4 separate regions of the Homo sapiens genome follow, and regions 1, 2 and 4 are each linked to region 3. The links are contacts of gene promoters, found by promoter capture Hi-C in blood cells and fetal thymus (Javierre and others, 2016). All regions are on one chromosome and are shown on one strand. Each heading gives the region's core, a stretch centred on a gene start or on the middle of the fragment in contact. The rest is flanking DNA. Distances are from core to core; before and after follow the strand shown.

Region 1 (4,115 bases), core at 1,114-3,613, 150 kb before region 3:
TGACCAGAAGGATGTTTGGGAATCCCAGATCCTGGACGAGTATCGTCCCCTCTCCTTGAAGCATCCCTCTGTGCAGCTCTGCAAATGTGATCCCATTTCTGGTAATGCACTGGGAGAGGAGAGCAATGCTCACATCTCATTGGTCAGATCTGTGTCACATGACCACCATCCCTGCAAGGGAGCTTGGGAAGGTACTTGCTGAGTACCCATTTGACTGTCTTCCATGACTCTGCAAAAACAAACAAACAAACAAACAAAAACATATACAGGTTGAACAGCCTTTATCTGACATGCTTAGAACCAGAAGTATTTCAGATTTTTTCAGATTTTGGAATATTTACAAATATATAATGAGATATCTTGGGGCTGGGACCCAAGCCTAAACAGGAAATTCATGTATGTTTCATACACACCTTGTACACATAGCCTGAAGGTAATTTTATATAGTATTTTAAATAATTTTATGCAGGAAACAAAGCTCAGACTGTGTTTTGACTGTGACCAGTCGCATGAGGTCAGGTCTGGAATTTTCCACATGTGCCATCATGTCAGCGCTCAAAAAGTTTTAGGTTTTGGAGTATTTTGGATCTTGACTTTTTGGATTAGGGGTGTTCACCCTGTGAACTGGGTATATCATAAGGGGCTGGGCACAGTGGCTCACACCTCTAATCCCAGCACTTTGGGAGGCCAAGGCAGGAGGATCTCTTGAGCCCAGGAATTCAAGACCAGTGTGGGCAACATAGAGAGACCTTATCTCTACAAAAAATAAAAAAATTAGTCAAGTGCTGTGGCTCATGCCCATCATCACAGTATTTGGGGAGACTAAAGCTAGAGACTCACTGAAACCCAGGAGATCAAGGCTGCAGTGACCCGTGATCATGCCAGCGCACTCCAGCCTGGGCAACAGAGCAAGACACTGTCTCAAAAAAATTAATTTAAAATAAAATAAAAATTAAATTTAAATTTAAAAATCAAAAATTACAAAATTAATATTGGAAGGAAGAAATGAATATTGGGTAGGTAATTTCAAGTGTCTGCCACAGAAAGAATGCTGGAGGAGGAGTCTTGAAGAATGAGTGGGAAGAAGTTGAACAAGAGTGTGGGAAAAGCCAAAGGGTCAGCACAGTTAAAATTCCAGGAATAGAAGGTGTGTGTTGACTTTGGAGACTCAGAGAAGAAAGTGGAGTGACTGAGAGCTGCAGGCAGACATCAGGATGGAAGCCAAGGCTCCTGGGCACCTGCCAGGAGGAAACATCACCAGACCCTCCCATTCCCAGCAGGCAGGTCCCCAGATAGGTAAGAGGGAAGGGTCAGTGCTTCTCACTGCACATGCATGGACTTTGCATATGCAAAACTGGCCCCATTTTCCAACAATCTGGATGCCCATAGAACTGAAGCTTAATAAACTGACATTTGTATAATAAGATGTGTCTGGGCCGGGCATGGTGGCTCATGCCTGTAATCTCAGCACTTTGGGAGGCCAAGGCAGGTGGATCACCTGAGGTCAGGAGTTTGAGACCAGCCTGGCCAACATGATGAAACCCCATCTCTACAAAAAATACAAAAAATTAGCCAAACATGGTGGCAGGTGCCTGTAATCCCAGCTACTTGGGAGGCTGAGGCAGGAGATTCTTTTGAACCCAGGAAGCGAAGGTGGTGGTGAGCCGAGATCGTGCCATTGCACTCCAGCCTGGGCAACAGATGGAAACACTGTCTCAAAAAAAAAAAAAAAAATGCCTGCTGCCTGTTGACCAGCTTCTCTTCCTTATCCCACTTGTTTTTCTTCCCCACTATATAAACCCCTAACTTTAGTTGGAGGGGAGAGATGGACTTGAGGTTTGTCTCCCTCTCTCCAGCTGACATCGCCTGTAATATGTAATATAAATAATATATGATAAATATAATAGTATAAACATTGAATATAATAAAGCCTTCTTCCATGGCAATACTTGTTGTCTCAGTGATTGGCTTTCTGTGCAGCAGACAATGAGACCTAGAACAAAACCGTAGTATTGAGTAACATATGGATGAGCCACCCCCACACTGATGTGTTGAGCTCCCCATGGGTTAAGCCTCTTATTCAAAAGGGCATGGCATTTCTTCCTCAGAGTAGCCTGTATTCTATGAAACATTATGTTTCACTTTGTTTCTACAAAACTGACCCAAAGATTTTCTTGTTCTTCTTGCTTTGAATTCTGCAGCTATTTACAGCTCTGTACGCTACTGTGGATAAAGCAAAATGGCAAGTTGCACTGGGATCCTGGTGTTTGAGGAGAGTGGAGCATCCCTGCTGCATGCCTGGGAAACAGCAGATGTTGAGTAAATGATCATCACACCTGGGGTGGGCTCCCGGGCCTACTTGCCTTGTTCTCAGTAGTGACTTGGATTTCCCTGCTTTTAAAAGAATCTTTGGCCTCAAGAGTCCTATTTTTCCACCATCAGTATTTAGGAGATTACCCAAAGGGTACCTGCATGTACTCACAAAGTGAAAAGTGAGCCCCCTGGGATCAGCTGCTACCTCACCAGGTACCCCCCATCACCCCATACCTCCCGACATCACTGCTGTGTGGTGCTCTGCAGCAGGGAAGGGAAGTAGGGGAGGAAAACCATTTGTTTGTTTGTTTGTTTTTCTTTTTTAGAGATAGAGTCTTCCCACTGCAATCATAGCCCACTGCAGCCTTGAACTCCTGGGCTCACTTGATCCTCCTGCCTCAGCCTCCCTGAGTAGCAAGGACTACAGGCGTGTGACACCACACCTAACTAATTTTTTTATGTTTTTAGAGACAGGGTCTCTCTGTGTTGCCCAGGCTGATCCTGAACTCCTGGCCTCACATGATCCTCCCACCTCAGCCTCCTGCATAACTGGGATTTGAGGTATGAGCCACTGCACCCAGCCAGATTTTTTAAAATGTACTATGTCACAGTGGCCTCATATCAGAGCCACTTGGGCCCCATGTGTTCCAGTGTTTGCTGAAACTGCTCTTTCTGTCTTTAATTTCAGCTCTCTCCAACCCTGGAATGAGACAGCCTCCCACAGGGTGGAGCTGCCAGAAAGAGCTGAGTAGCCTCTTTGGCTTTAACTATAGAAATTTTCTTGATTATGGTAGACCCTTGGGGATATCTGTTCCAGCTCAGGATCAATTCTCCTTCCCTGGAAACTGCCAATGGGAGGGACCTTATCAGAAATATTTGCACTGTGTAATTCTACTCCCTGGACACAGTGATTAGACCAGGCATGGCCAACTGACCCAAATTGAGCCAACCAGATTTATTTCTCATAAGAATTTAGTGCTGAGGCCAAGATAAACGGGGCTAATTTCTGTAATGGTTGAAGCTTGTAGCCTTGGGGGCTGTGAAATATGGCCTCCATATGAACAGAAAATCTGAGAAAGTGTATCTGTGTGGATGGACAGAGAGAAACAGAGATGAGATGTAGAAAGCCAGACACAGTGGCATGCACCTGTAGTCACAGCTACTCAGGAGGCTGAAGCAAAAAGATTCCTTGAGCCCAAGAATTCAAGACCAGACTGGGCAACATAGCAAAAGCTGTCCCTCAAAAAAGAAAAAGAAATCTTGTGCTTCTTTTTTAAATTTATTTTCAACCTAAGAAAGATGAATGAAGAAACAGCAACAACCACAACCCCAAAAAAAGAGAGAGAAATGGCATGCTGATACCTTTCCACTTCCCAGCTCCAGGCCTTTCTTAAGACTTAGGGATATTCCTGCCTTAACTTTCGTGAGACACCTCCATATCCTAGTCAGAGTCGTTGGTTGCCAGCAACAGACTCCACTATGGCGGCTTTAGGTCACAAAGGCATTCATCAAAGGACATTCATCAAGTCTCCAGAAGAACCAGAGAATCAAGCTTGGACCCCACAAAGCCAGAAGTCCCCAAATTACACTGCAAGAATACTGCAACCAGGCCCCTACAGCTATCCTGCCCACTGCTAGTGCCAGGCCCCTCCTCACGCTGTTCCTGAGAACTGGGTCCTGTACTCCTGCTGCAAGGAAAGCTACAAAGCAGCACTCCTGACTTCTGACATGGAGAGGCAGAGCTCCTAAATAAAGAGACTTCTCATAGCTATTCAAAAGAAACCACACTGGCCAGAAGCAGC
Region 2 (3,977 bases), core at 848-3,347, 200 kb before region 3:
CACCCGGCCCAGTACTCAGACCTGACCTGTGTCTGGAGGCTGACCTGCAGAGGCTGCATCAACCTTTGCTCTCTGCCATCTGGCTCCTGATTGACTTCAACCAATAGGAGTAAGAGGTGAAGCAGGAGGTCAGCGAGCAGGAGGAGAGAGAGGTGGGGTATTACTCCCCGGCTTCCTCTCTGCTTGGCCATGGGTGACAGCAGCTGGGTCCCTTGGGTGAGAGCTGTGGGCCACCTCCTACAGCTACCGCTCTGGCTGGGTTCCCCTAACTAACAGGGCCTTCCTGGCCCATTTAGGACTGAAGATGGTAACAAGTGCCCCACTGCTGCTGGTCCCAAAGTCCTTTGTTACCTCTTTTCAGTTTCTCTCAACCTGATCCACACCTCCATAAAGAGGGAGGCTGAGGCAAGAGGATCACCTGAGCCTAGGAGGTCGAGGCTGCAGTGAGCCGTGATCGCACCACTGCACTCCAGCCTGGGCAACAGAGTGAGACCCTGTCTCAAAAAAAACAAAAAGAGTCCTTTCATTCTTTCACTAAACTTTCACCAATGACCCCACCCCTTGAGTGTGCTGTCTGTATCCTGCCTGCACGGTAACTGGCAATAAGACCCTCATGCTCTAGCCCCTGCCCAGCTCCCAACCCCCTCACACAACTCTTCCAGCTCCTTTGCTATGCTCTGGCCATACCTGGCTCCTTTCTGTCCCTCAGCTGCACCAAGCCTGTGGCCTCGTTAGTGCCACATATTTTCTGTTCCATCTACCTTGGGACACTGTTCCCAGATCTTTATGCAGCTGGTCTCAGCCCAAATGTCACTCTTCAGGGAGGCTTTCCCTGACCACCTGTCACACACACTCATCCATATCCTTCACTTGACTGATAACCAATCCAGAATTAACCTCTTCAGTTCTTTGTGGGTTTGTTTCTGTTTATACCTATAGCAATGTTGATTCTGGCCAAGCATCATGGTGGCTCACATCTATAATCCCAGTGCTTCGGGAGGCTTAGGCAGAAGGATTGCTTGAGCCCAGGAGTTTGAGACCAGTCTGGGCAATATAGCACAACCCCATCTCTACAACAATACAAAAAAAAAAAAAAAAGATTAGCCAGGCATGGTGGTGTGTGCCTGTAGTCCCAGCTGCATGGGAGGTTGAGGTGGGAGGATTGTTTGAGCCCAGGAGCTGGAGGCTACAGTGAGCTATGATCTCACCACTGTATTCCCAGCCTGGGTAACAGAGTGAGATCTTGTCTTTTGAAAAAAAAAGAGTTACTTACACAAGGGCAGTCTTTTTTTCCACTAGTCTTTTTGTTCACTGCTGTAGTCCTGGCAGTAGTGAACATAAGGGGTCTTGATAAATATTTGTGGAATTAAAAAAAGCTTTATGTTCACTCTGGAGAGAGTGAGGACACTCACTCTGGAACCCCTGAAGGCAGAGGGTGCCCTGGGGTCTCTTTTCCAGGTTATGATCAGGCCTTTCTTGCCTCAAATCTCTCCACATCACCTCTCAGGGTCCACAAATTCTCGCACTTCAGTAACATCCCCAGTTGTGCTTCCTGAGAAGTAGCTGGGTGCTGATGAAAGAGCTTTGGCACAGGGCTCAGACACACCTGGGTTTCACTCCTGGCTCTGCTATGCCCATTGCCTCTCTGGCCCTCAGTTCCGCCATCTATTAAAAAGGAAACCCAAATGGAACCCAACATACTGGGGTCGTGGAAAGGAGCAATGAGACCCAGGCACGTAAGGCAGCCAGCACTGCCCTGCCCCATGCCAGGGATTTGAAGAGCAGCAAAGAGAATGAGATGCTGAAGGGTCCCTGGGAAAGGGTCCCGGGTCTTCCCCACCCAGGCTGAAGCCCAATCAGGAGAGGAAGGTGGACCTGTGAAGGTAGGGGCGGTGCCTAGACTAATGTAGCTGGGAGAGGCTTCCAGAGCTCTCCATGCACAAGCTGGTGTGGAGCAGTGCAGGAGTCCCAGGCGTGTAAGAGCAATGTGGACGTGGTGAAGGACTCAGGAGGGTTCAGAAAAATTCAGTAATTGTCTGGGCGTGGTGGTTCATGCCTGTAATCCCAACATTTTGGGAGGCTGAGGCAGGTGGATCACCTGAGGTCAGGAGTTTGAGACCAGCCTGGCTAATGTGGTGAAACCCCCTCTCCACTAAAAAGACAAAAATTAGCTGGGCATGGTGGCGCATCCCTGTAATCCCGGCTATTCAGGAGGCTGCGGCAGGAGAATCACTTGAACCTGGGAGGTGGAGGTTGCAGTGAGCCGAGATGATGCCACTGCACTCCAGCCTAGGCGATAGAGTGAGACTCCGCCTCAAAAAAAACAAGAAAAAAAAAAAGGAAGAAAAGAAAAAGAAAAGGAAAGAAAAGCTCAGTAACTTCCCAGTGCATCTCATTGAACTTAGCATGGGCACCCACCTGATCTCAATGCACCCAGGAGTTGGCATTCGAGGGCAGCAAGGAGCATCCCTCAGACTTGGATGCAGTTATACACAGCGCCACAGCAGCACGCATGGCCTGACGTCAAAGACTGGCTGAGAATCTCAGAAAATCATGGATGTCCCCTCCCCAACACCCTGACCTCCGCCCCTGCCGAACTTAGGGGTAACCCCAAGGAATGTAAGGAAACCTAAATTGATTGGAAGAATGGACACAAATTAAACATGGTTATGAACTTTGTTAGTCCATTTTGCATTGCTGTAAAGGAATACCTGAGGCTGGGTAATTTATTAAAAGAAAGGAGGTTTATTTGGCTCAAGGTTCTGCAGGCTGTGCAAGCATGGTGCCAGCATCTGCTCAGTTTCTGGTGAGGCCTCAGGAAGCTTTTAATCATGGCAGAGAGGAAGAGGAGCCAACGTGTCACATGATGAGAGGGAGCAAGAGAGACATGGGAGGTCCTAGACTCTATTCTTCCTTTAATTTTTCAACTTTTGTGGGTACATAGTAGTGTATATATTTATGGGGTACATGAGAGATTTTGATACAGGCAGGCAATGCATAATAATCCTATCAAGGTAAACGGGGGATCCATCATTGGAAGCATTTATCCTTTGTGTTACAAACAAGCCAATTACACTCTTTTAGTTATTTATAAATGTGTAATTAAATTATTATTGACCATAGTCACACTGTTGTGCTATCAAATCTATCAAATACTAGGTCTAATTCTCCTTTTTTTTTTTTTTTTTTTTTTTTTTTGAGATGAAGTCTCGCTCTGTTGCCCAGGCTGGAATGCAGTGGCATGACCTCAGCTCACTACAACCTCCTCCTCCCAGGTTCAAGTGATTCTCCTGCATCAGCCTCCTGAGTAGCTGGAGCTACAGGCACCCACCACCACACCTGGCTAATTTTTGTATTTTTAGTGGAGATGGGGTTTCACTATGTTGGCAAGGCTGGTCTTGAATTCCTGACCTCAAGTGATCCACCCGCCTTGGCCTCCCAAAGTGCTGGGATTACAGCCATGAGCCACTGCACCTGGCCCTTATTCATTCTTTCTAACTATTTTTGTACTCATTAGCCTTCCCAACTCCTCCCCGCCACCAACCGGCACCCCCCACTACCCTTCGCAGCCTCTGGTCACCATCTTTCCCAGGCTCTAAATTTTTAACGGCCAGATCTCACATGAATAGAATGAGAACTCACTCATTACCACCAGGAGGGCACCAAGACATTCATGAGGGATCTGCCCCCATTTCCCACTAGGCACCACCTTTAACATTGGGAATCACATTTCAACATGAGATTTGGAGGAGACAAACATCCCAACCATAGTGTGAAGTGAATGAATAAAGAGAGTGATATTTCCCATGCACCTGAGATGTGGACTGACATTTCTACCACATGGTACGTTGCCAGAATCCTCCATTGGGTGTGTGTGTGTCTTGCGACTTGAATGAGCCTGAGAAGCCTTGAGACTTCTTCCTGGGCCTCGGAAGGGCTGTCCTTATCAGGGACAGCTATTCTGCAAGAACTCTGCA
Region 3 (4,280 bases), core at 1,265-3,764:
ACTTTTGCTGTCGTCTCCCGATGACATGGGGCACAAACTCAGAAACACAGACAGGACAAAGGCAGCTTGCAGGGCTGAACTGCCTGGGATGAAGCATCAACCGTGTGGGTGTGCGGATGTGTGAGTAATGAGTGTGAGGGAGTATGAGTGTGGACGGGAGTGGAAGTCACACCTAATCCAGAGGATTCCTATTCCTCCTGAAACCCAAGCTTCCAGGAAAGCCCTTCCTGTGGCCTTCTCTCCCTAGTCCTCTTAGCGTCTGCCTGGGCTGCCCCCAGTACGGGGTTTATTACACTCAATTGCTTACATCTGTTCACTTCAATTGCTTACGTCTGCTCACTTGTCAGTGCCCCAACCAGGTCCTCAGGGCTAGGAAGCAGGGGCTGGATCTATTTCTTGCTCTCCCTAGCCCCCAGCTCACGACTTGGCATATGGAGGCATCCACAAACAGATGCCGAAGGATGGGAGTTTTTCCACACTCCCACGCCACCTCCAGGTATTTGCTCATGCTGTCCCTTCCACCTGCATGTTTTTCTGCATTGATTCAGGCACTGGTCAGAGGTCACCTCCTCCAGGAAGCCATCCCTGACCCCAGGGAACTGACTTATCTTTACTGTCACTTCCGGGGGTGGGTTGGTGGCTGTCTTGCTCACTTGGTTGTAAGGTCTCAGAGGGCAGGGATTGTGTCTGTTTCATGTCTTCAGGTCTGCGTCATCAGCGCTTGTCACAAGGTTAGACACACAGTAGGACCAAGACAGACCAAGTACATGAAAGAATGATTGACATATGGGCCAGGCGTGGTGGCTCACACCTGTAATCCCAGCACTTCGGGAGGCAGAGGCAGGCAGATCACCTGAGGTCAGGAGTTTGATACCAGCCTGGCCAACATAGTGAAACCTCATGTCTACTAAAAATACAAAAATGAGCCGGACGTGGTGGTGCACGCTTGTAATTCCAGCTACTCAGGAGGCTGAGGCAGGAGAATTGCTTGAACTCAGGAAGTGGAGGTTGCAGTGAGCTGAGATCACCCACTGCACTCCAGCCTAGGCAATGGAATGAGACCCCATCTTCAAAAAAAAAAAAAGAATGATTGACGTGCAGTGGCCCCTGCCCTGGGAAGCCAACCCTCACCCTCCACCACAGCACTTGATCCCATTGGGCAGTCCTTGGCTTCCACCCTCAAACTGAGAGCTCCTTGAGGGCAGCAGGGGGTCAAATTACTCTCTGGGTTCTCAGCACTGCCCAGTGTGAGTCCAAATATCTCCCACCTCCCCTGTCTCCGCTCTTTCCTCACTCAGGGCTCCACAGCCATGCCGGCCTTCAGCAATTCCTCCTGCAGGCTGAGCTGGTTCCCACAGGGCCTTTGCACTAGCTCTTCCCTCTCCCTACACAAGTCTTCCCCCATAGGCTCTTCAGAGTCTCAGCTCAAATGGCCTCTACTCAAAAAGCCTCTTCCAGACCACCTGCCCCACTGGTCTAAGAGGTCCCTACTTTCTTCTTGGGCCCTCCTGACCTGAAATACTTTGTTGAGTGTTTTCCCCCCAGTCATCTGGCTGCATCCGGGTTCTTATGGTGTCCAGACGTTAATGGTCTATGGGGCCTGTGTTCGAATCCCAGCTCCACCCCTGCTCCTGCTTACCTGCAGAGTGATTCTGAGTTTCTTTCTTTTCTTTTTTAAAATTTTATAAATGTCAATTTTTGTAGATAGGGGTCTCGCTAACAGGGTTGCCCAGGCTGGTCTCGAACTATGGGGTTCAAGTGATCCTCCCGCCTCAGCTTCCCAAAGTGCTGGGATTACAGGCATGAGCCACTTTGCCCAACCCATTTTGAATTTCTTAAGGACTCTGTGCCTCAGTTTCCTGATTTGTAAAACCGGTGATAGTATCACTCCCTTATAGGGTAGTTGCCAGGATTGAACGAGTTAACATTTGCAGTGCCCGACAGATTGTACTAGTTACTGATTGAAGGGCTGTTTTACTATCCAAATGTGGCTGGAGTAGGAGTTGGGTAAACATTTATTGAAGAATGTGCAACCACTCTCACTTGGAAGCCGGGCTGTTAGGAAGGGGAGGAGGATTCCAGTCGCCCAGCCCTCCCCCACCAAACGCAACTGCCCCGGCGCAAAAGAGGCCGCGGAGGCCAGGCAGGAGCAGGTCCTGGAGGCCTGGTCGGCGTGGGCGTTTTATTCCGAGACCAAGGGGATCCACTGCAGAGTTCTCCGCTGGGCGTGACCTCGGGCTACGGCGTGGGAGGAAGCGCGCGGCAAGACACCCAGCGAGGTGCTGGGGTCGCCCCCAGGAGAGGACGGCGGCTCGGACTGTCCGGCGGCGGCGGCGGGGACAGCGACAGGGGCGCGAGGTGGCCGGGACCCGGGCCGGGCGCGCCGGGCGGGGCGGCGCATGCAAATCTGCCGGGCGCCGGGGCGGGGAGCAGGAAGCCGGGGCGGGCTGGGTCTCCGCGCCCAGGAAAGCCCCGCGCGGCGCGGGCCAGGGAAGGGCCACCCAGGGGTCCCCCACTTCCCGCTTGGGCGCCCGGACGGCGAATGGAGCAGGGGCGCGCAGGTAGGATCCGGGGCCCGCGCGCGGATCGGGTTGCGAAGGTATCGCCCGGGCACGCCGGCTGAGGGCGTTCGGGAAGGGCTCGGCCGCCGGCGGGGACCACGGGGACCACCCCGACTCCGAGCGGGGCCCGAGCCCGCGACTCTCGGTGCGCGCGGAGCAGCGCCCGGTTCCGTCCTTGCCGCCGAACGGCAGCGGAGGCGCGAGGCCCGGGGTACGTGGACACCCAGCGCTCCCCAAAGCCGGTGCTGGCAGTGAGACCTCCGCCGGGACGGCCTGCGGGGGTGGGGGGCTTGGGGTTAGGCTGTCGGAGGCCACGCAGCCCCTCTTCTCCGGGCAGTGGCGCCCAGCCCTGCGCTCAGGAAGTCAGTGAGGACTTCGGAGAGAGAAAGGGTGGGGAAAGTTCTGAGAACTGTAAATTTGAGTAGTAGGTCAGTGAATCGGGGCGGTCTCCGCCTCCGAATATCAGATGGACCCAATAATCGCGATCATTGACTGGGACTTGTTTTACTGAAAGGATGCCAAGTGAAACCTCCCACTAACTTCTCTGTGGCCGGTGCTGTGCGTCATGGACATTGTACAGATGAGGTCACCAAGACCCCAGCCGCTTTAGTAACTTGCCCTAAGGTGCCGCCCACTTGGGAGTCCGTGGGGCAGCAGGACTAGAGCCCAGGCAATCCCACGCCAGAGCCAGCTGCTCTCCATCTCTCAATCACGTTTGAGGAGCCCCCACAATAACCAGAATCTCCGGGAGATTTGCTTAAAATGCAGATTCCCAGGTCCTTGCCCTGAGATTCAGATTCAGTAAACCCAGGAATCTGATCTTTATTTTATTTTTAAAAATTTATTTTATAAAGATGGTGTCTCACTATGTTGTCCAGGCTGGCCTCAAGTGATCCTCCCACCTCGGCCTCCCAAAATGCTGGGATGACAGGTGTGAGCCACTGAGCCCTGATTTTTTTTTTAAACAAAATCTGGATTTCTTAGACTTAAGCAAGATAGGGGACCACTAGTTTGTCTGCTTCTGGGGTTCAAGGAATGCCCCCAGGCCAGCGCTAACCCTGCTCCAGTTCTAGTCTCTCCCCTTCCCCAGCCCTCTGGGAGGCATGACCCACTGCACTTCCCTGCCCCCAGTAGCCTATGAGGAGCCCAAGGCATTTGCTGGGACCTCAGTGCCTTTATCAAAATCCCAAAGTCCAATGGGGAAACAGGCTCAGGTGTAGGTTTGGCCAGGGTGTCCTGCACATTAGGGCATTCCAGGGTCCTGCAGGGGTTTCTTAGAACTCGGCTAGCCCAGCCCATGAATGGGAGGTGACCTGCTAAGCCACTCATTCACTCACTAGCACTCATTCAGCTCCTGCGAGGCCCTGGGTGGTGTTCTGGGCACTGGTGCTTGCCTCAAGGAGCACCCCCTCTGCAGGAAGACAGACGTGAGGGCTGGGAGGGTGCGGATGCACCAGCGGCTGCAGGACCACAAGCCAGAGGGGATCAGCTCTTCAAAGGTCACTGGGCCAGGCTTCCCAGCACCCAGGGACCCTGAGCTAGCCTTGTGAGTAGAGCAGGGGAGTCTGGCAGGTAGAGGATGGGAGGTAAAGGGAGGCACAGAGTGGGCGGAGGCTGGGAAGTGTGAAAGGGCACTGTGTACAGAACCTAGGGAGTAAGCAGAAGCCAGAGATGGATGGAAAGTTGGGCTGGGCTGCATTGTGGAAAGCCTTGAATGCC
Region 4 (4,271 bases), core at 299-2,798, 170 kb before region 3:
GCTTTGCCCCTTAATATTTATTGGCCATTGTGCCATAACAATAGGTATAAATCTGTCTCATAATTGTTAACAGTTATGGATGCATCATTATTTAATGGGTCCCCTCCTGACAGGCCTTTAATAAGTTATTAAACGCCATACCTCATCCTCACAGCAGCCTCTTGAGACACACATATTATGCCTATTGTACCAACTAAAATGATTAGAATAGGAATCCTCAATCCTCTATTCTAATTCAATAGGAATTAGAATAGAATCCTCAATTCTATGCTGGCTGCAGCGTACAATCACCCAGGGTGCCAGTGTGCCCGTCAGAGGCTGAGGTTCAGTGACCGACTCTCCCCCAGCCTCTGGCCCCAGCTGCTGTGTGTGCTGCTCAGACCTGTGCAAGGCACCACCAGGCCTTGCAGCAATTCATCCACCCGTTTTTATTTTGTATTAAAATTGTTATTCCTGCCTGCTGCCGCTACCTCCAGGCTATTTCTCAGGACATTAACCTTTATAGTCCTCCTCTACCACTGTTCCTTGGGGTTGAATTTTATTCCACTCAGGAGACCAAGGGACAGAGCCACTGCAGCCACAATAACTGGGCAGTGAACACCCCAGGATCCCGAAGAGCTGCCCATCCCAGCTGAGACTGGTGGCCTTTGGTTCAGTCCTCTGGATTGTGATTTGGACCCAGACATAAATGCAGAGAAAGACACAGAGAACGGTGGAGAGAATGTAGACAGAGGAGAGAGAGAGAGAGATAGAGACAAAGAGCTGTGTCCTCATGTCCAACTGTACAAAGATGGCTTGTAGGAATTTCCCATCAGGTAAACAAATCAATATGAGTCATGTACTAAGACACTGCTATCGATGAAAACAGCTGAGATTATTAGTGCCCACTGAATGCCAAAGAAAACATAGACATCACCTCTGGTTCTCTCTGAAACCCTACAAGGAACTATTGTGAAGAAACTATGACCCAGTGAATTAAGTGCCTTTACTTAAGTGTATCAGTCAGCATAGGCTAGGTTATGCTGCTATAACAAACAATCCCAAAAATCTCAGTGGGGTGAAATAACAGAGACCATAAGATTAGCTCTCACTCAAACTAAATGTCCATCAGGGCTTGACAGTGACTCTGTTCCAGGCCACCTTCTCTAGTGGACAGGTTCCTCCACTGCTGAGACAACCCCATAAGGAAGAAGGACCAATATAGTCCCCAGTGATGTGTTGGTGAATGATTAATAACAGTTCTGTGAGGGTAGACAGTGTCTGTGTGTGTGTGTGTGTGTGTGTGCACGAACACGCATGTGTGTATACATATCTTTATTATAAATTTTACTGATAAAAGATGTATTGTACACAGTTTATAAATAGTAATAAAATATACAAACTCTTTATTGAAAATTGTCTATAGCCAAATGATTCTCACGGAAAGCTTTTGTTGATTTTTATTATACAACTCTGACATCCATAGCCCACCTAGAGTTCCAATGAATGACTCTATAATGTTTTTTTGCTATTCACAATGTAACAGCTACCAATATGACACTTTTCAGTTTAATTTGCTTTTTCTTCTATTGCTTTCTCACGTCTATACAAGAACCCAAACAATTCATAGAGACCTGATTTGTAGTGTTTGCCCATTTTTGGTGGTATAAATGCTTCCGAAATGGCCAATGTCAAGCTTGCACAGTGAGGTCACTGCATGCAGAACAGGGAAAGAAGTGTGTGTTCACACACTGTTATGTAATATTTCCATCTTACAGATACAATGGACATAAATACATTCAAAAACTTAGAGAGTAGTAAAATGCAATAAAACAAGAAGTGGTGGGTTTGGGGTATTTCTTTCCTTTGTTTTTAATAAAATGTGTTTAGCTATAAATTTACATAATTTAATTTTTAATGATGGCTGCAGTTAATCGCTGGCTTAGAAAACTCCTGCATGCCTCTGTTATATTCCCCCAGCTGCTAGAGTTCCCCCATGGCCCTCAGCTGTCAGCCCTCTGTAGGAATTACCCTCGGATGAAGAGCTCCCTCTCACCCAAGATCACCTCCCTTTCTTTCTTTTTCTTTCTTTCTTTCCTTTTTTTTTTTTTTTTTTTTTTTTTTGAGATAGGGTCTTGCTGTATTGTTCAGGCTGGAGTGCAGTGGCACAATCACAGCTCACTGCAGTCTCGAACTCCCAGGCTCAAGTGATCCTCCCAGCTCAGCCTCCCAAGTAACTGGGACTACAGGCTTGCACCACCAGCTAATTTTTTTGTATTTTTTATAGAGATGGGGTTTCGCCCTGTTGCCCAGGCTGGTCTCAAACTCCTGGGCTCAAGCGATTCACCCACCTCAGCCTCCCAAAGTGCTGGAATTACCTCTCCCCTTCCATAGGGGTAGCTCACATCCAGTGAGCTGTTGACATGAGGGTATAAAAGCCCAGATTATTGCTGCAACTTGGGACATGACTGAAGGACCACAAGTCTCAGAGCTCTTTGTGGAGCCCACTCCTCTGTCTGCCCAGTTGGGCTTTCTTCCTCCCACGTGAGTGCAGGTACTGAGAACACAGCCTGGTAAACTTCACACGTTAGTCTCCGTCTAGAGTGTTCTTCCCAAGGAGCCCCCACAACGCTGCCACTCCAGGCTCCAGGCTGATGGAGCAGCTCTGTCTGGAGCAGTTATTCGGTCATTACCAGAGTAGGAAAGAGACCTCTGAAGGAGCTCACTTCTGCTCCATCCTCATTGGTCAGAGCTAGTCATATGATCCTACCCAACCATCCTTCCTAATTCTCCAGAAGTGGGAGAGCCAGTGATATAGTTTGGAAATTTGTCCCTGTCCAAATCTCATGTTGAATTGTAATCCCCGATGCTGGAGGTGGGGCCTGGTGGGAGGCATTTGGATCACGGGGGGCAGATCCCTCATGGCTTGGTGCTGTATTCGTGACAGTGAGTTCTCGTGAGATCTGGTCATAAAAGTGTGTAGCACCCTGGCTTTTTGCTTCTGCTCTCACTGTGTGACGTGCCTGCTGCCCCTTCACCTTCTGCCATGAGTAAAACTCCGAGGCCTCCCTAGAAGCTGAGCAGATGTCAGCATTATGCTTCCTGTACTGCCACAGAACCGTGAGCCAAATAAACCTCTTTTCTTTATAAATTACCCAGCTCTGGGTATTTCTTTGTAGCAATATGAGAATGGACTAATACAGCCAGAATACTCAGCACACACAGCACTCAATAGTGATCACTGCTGCACAATCACACAGCTGGCCAACAACAGCTCTGGGGTGGAATTCCAGGTCTCTGTGACCACAAATCTATGCTCCTCTCCTTACACACCATTTGAGAATTGAGACTCTCACTTGGACTGGTCACAGTGGCACGCACCTATAATCCCAGCTACTTGGGAGGCTGAGGTGGGAGGATCTCCTGAGCCCAGGGTTGGAGATTCCTCACTAGGTCTTGAGAATATGAAGATGAATAATGTTCATTCCCCATCCTGAGCTCCACCCTGAAACACCCACAACACTAAAGCTAATATATAGACTTGTCAGGTCAGAAATCCACAAACTGACTGAATCTTAGTATCCCCAGGATACCCCTAAAAGACCCCTCGTTGGTGTCAAAAAATACACTTCATTCTCCTGTCTCACATACACTGCAGTCATCATTAATCAACTATGACACTTTCTCCTGATGAGCCTGGATGGGGCAAGAATCAGGAGTCACAGCTCCCAACAGACATTAGCAATCAATCAGAGAAAGTGCATAATTTGAAAACTATTTGTCATTTGGAAACCCCTCATTTCATATATGGGAAAATGGAGGCCATAAACCACATGGTAAGTCAGTTTGGCCACGTAGCTGACACTGCAGCAAAGATATATGTGCAGGTAGGGCAAAAGGCAGTCTTCCTTAAACCCCCAGAGTGTTCACTCTTGGGAGGAGGAAAGCCAGCCTCAGCCCAGGAGCTCTCTCCCAAGTAATCCACCTTGATTAGGTGATAATAATATTCATAACAAAAAACAATATTTGCCACTTATAGGGCAACTTCCAGGTGTGAGGCCCAGTGTTAAGTGCCTTAAAGGCACTTGTCACTTCTCCTCCTTAAACCATCCCACTGGGAGGCTAAGGCAGGCAGATCACTTGAGCCCAGGAGTTTCAGACCACCCTGGGCAACATGGCAAAGCTCCATTTCTACAAAAAAATACAAAAATTAGCCAGGTGTCATGGTGCATGCCGGTAGTCCCAGCTACTTGAGAGGCAAAGGCAGGAGGATCCCTGGAGCTGGGGAAGCA

The links. Contacts are between HindIII fragments. The CHiCAGO score rates a contact against its expected background, and 5 or more counts as called.
Region 1: a contact is called between a fragment that was not itself captured here and the fragment with the promoter of IL4R in region 3, in 6 of 17 cell types (non-activated CD4 T cells, naive CD8 T cells, total CD4 T cells and 3 more). The highest score is 7.6, in non-activated CD4 T cells.
Region 2: a fragment that was not itself captured here is called in contact with the fragment with the promoter of IL4R in region 3 in 1 of 17 cell types (total B cells); the score reaches 5.1 in total B cells.
Region 4: a fragment that was not itself captured here is called in contact with the fragment with the promoter of IL4R in region 3 in 8 of 17 cell types (naive CD8 T cells, total CD4 T cells, activated CD4 T cells and 5 more); the score reaches 9.8 in naive CD8 T cells.

What each region holds. Positions count from the first base shown.
Region 1 is chr16:27,161,444-27,165,558 of GRCh38, forward strand. It overlaps LINC02129 (long intergenic non-protein coding RNA 2129), which reads right to left. Exons shown (of 4, transcript NR_170200.1): 3 at 1-229. Among named protein-coding and RNA genes, the nearest start is that of LINC02129, 13 kb to the right of the region's middle. The HindIII fragment of the contact is 1,937 bases long and covers 1,396-3,332 here.
Region 2 is chr16:27,113,500-27,117,476 of GRCh38, forward strand. No RefSeq gene overlaps it. Among named protein-coding and RNA genes, the nearest start is that of C16orf82, 49 kb to the left of the region's middle. The HindIII fragment of the contact is 1,446 bases long and covers 1,375-2,820 here.
Region 3 is chr16:27,311,460-27,315,739 of GRCh38, forward strand. IL4R (interleukin 4 receptor) reads left to right here and starts at 2,515. Exons shown (of 11, transcript NM_000418.4): 1 at 2,515-2,561. RefSeq lists enhancers at 1-905, 1,728-2,458 and silencers at 2,236-2,535, 2,556-2,765, 3,206-3,255. The HindIII fragment of the contact is 16,225 bases long and covers 208-4,280 here.
Region 4 is chr16:27,144,820-27,149,090 of GRCh38, forward strand. No RefSeq gene overlaps it. Among named protein-coding and RNA genes, the nearest start is that of LINC02129, 30 kb to the right of the region's middle. The HindIII fragment of the contact is 249 bases long and covers 1,425-1,673 here.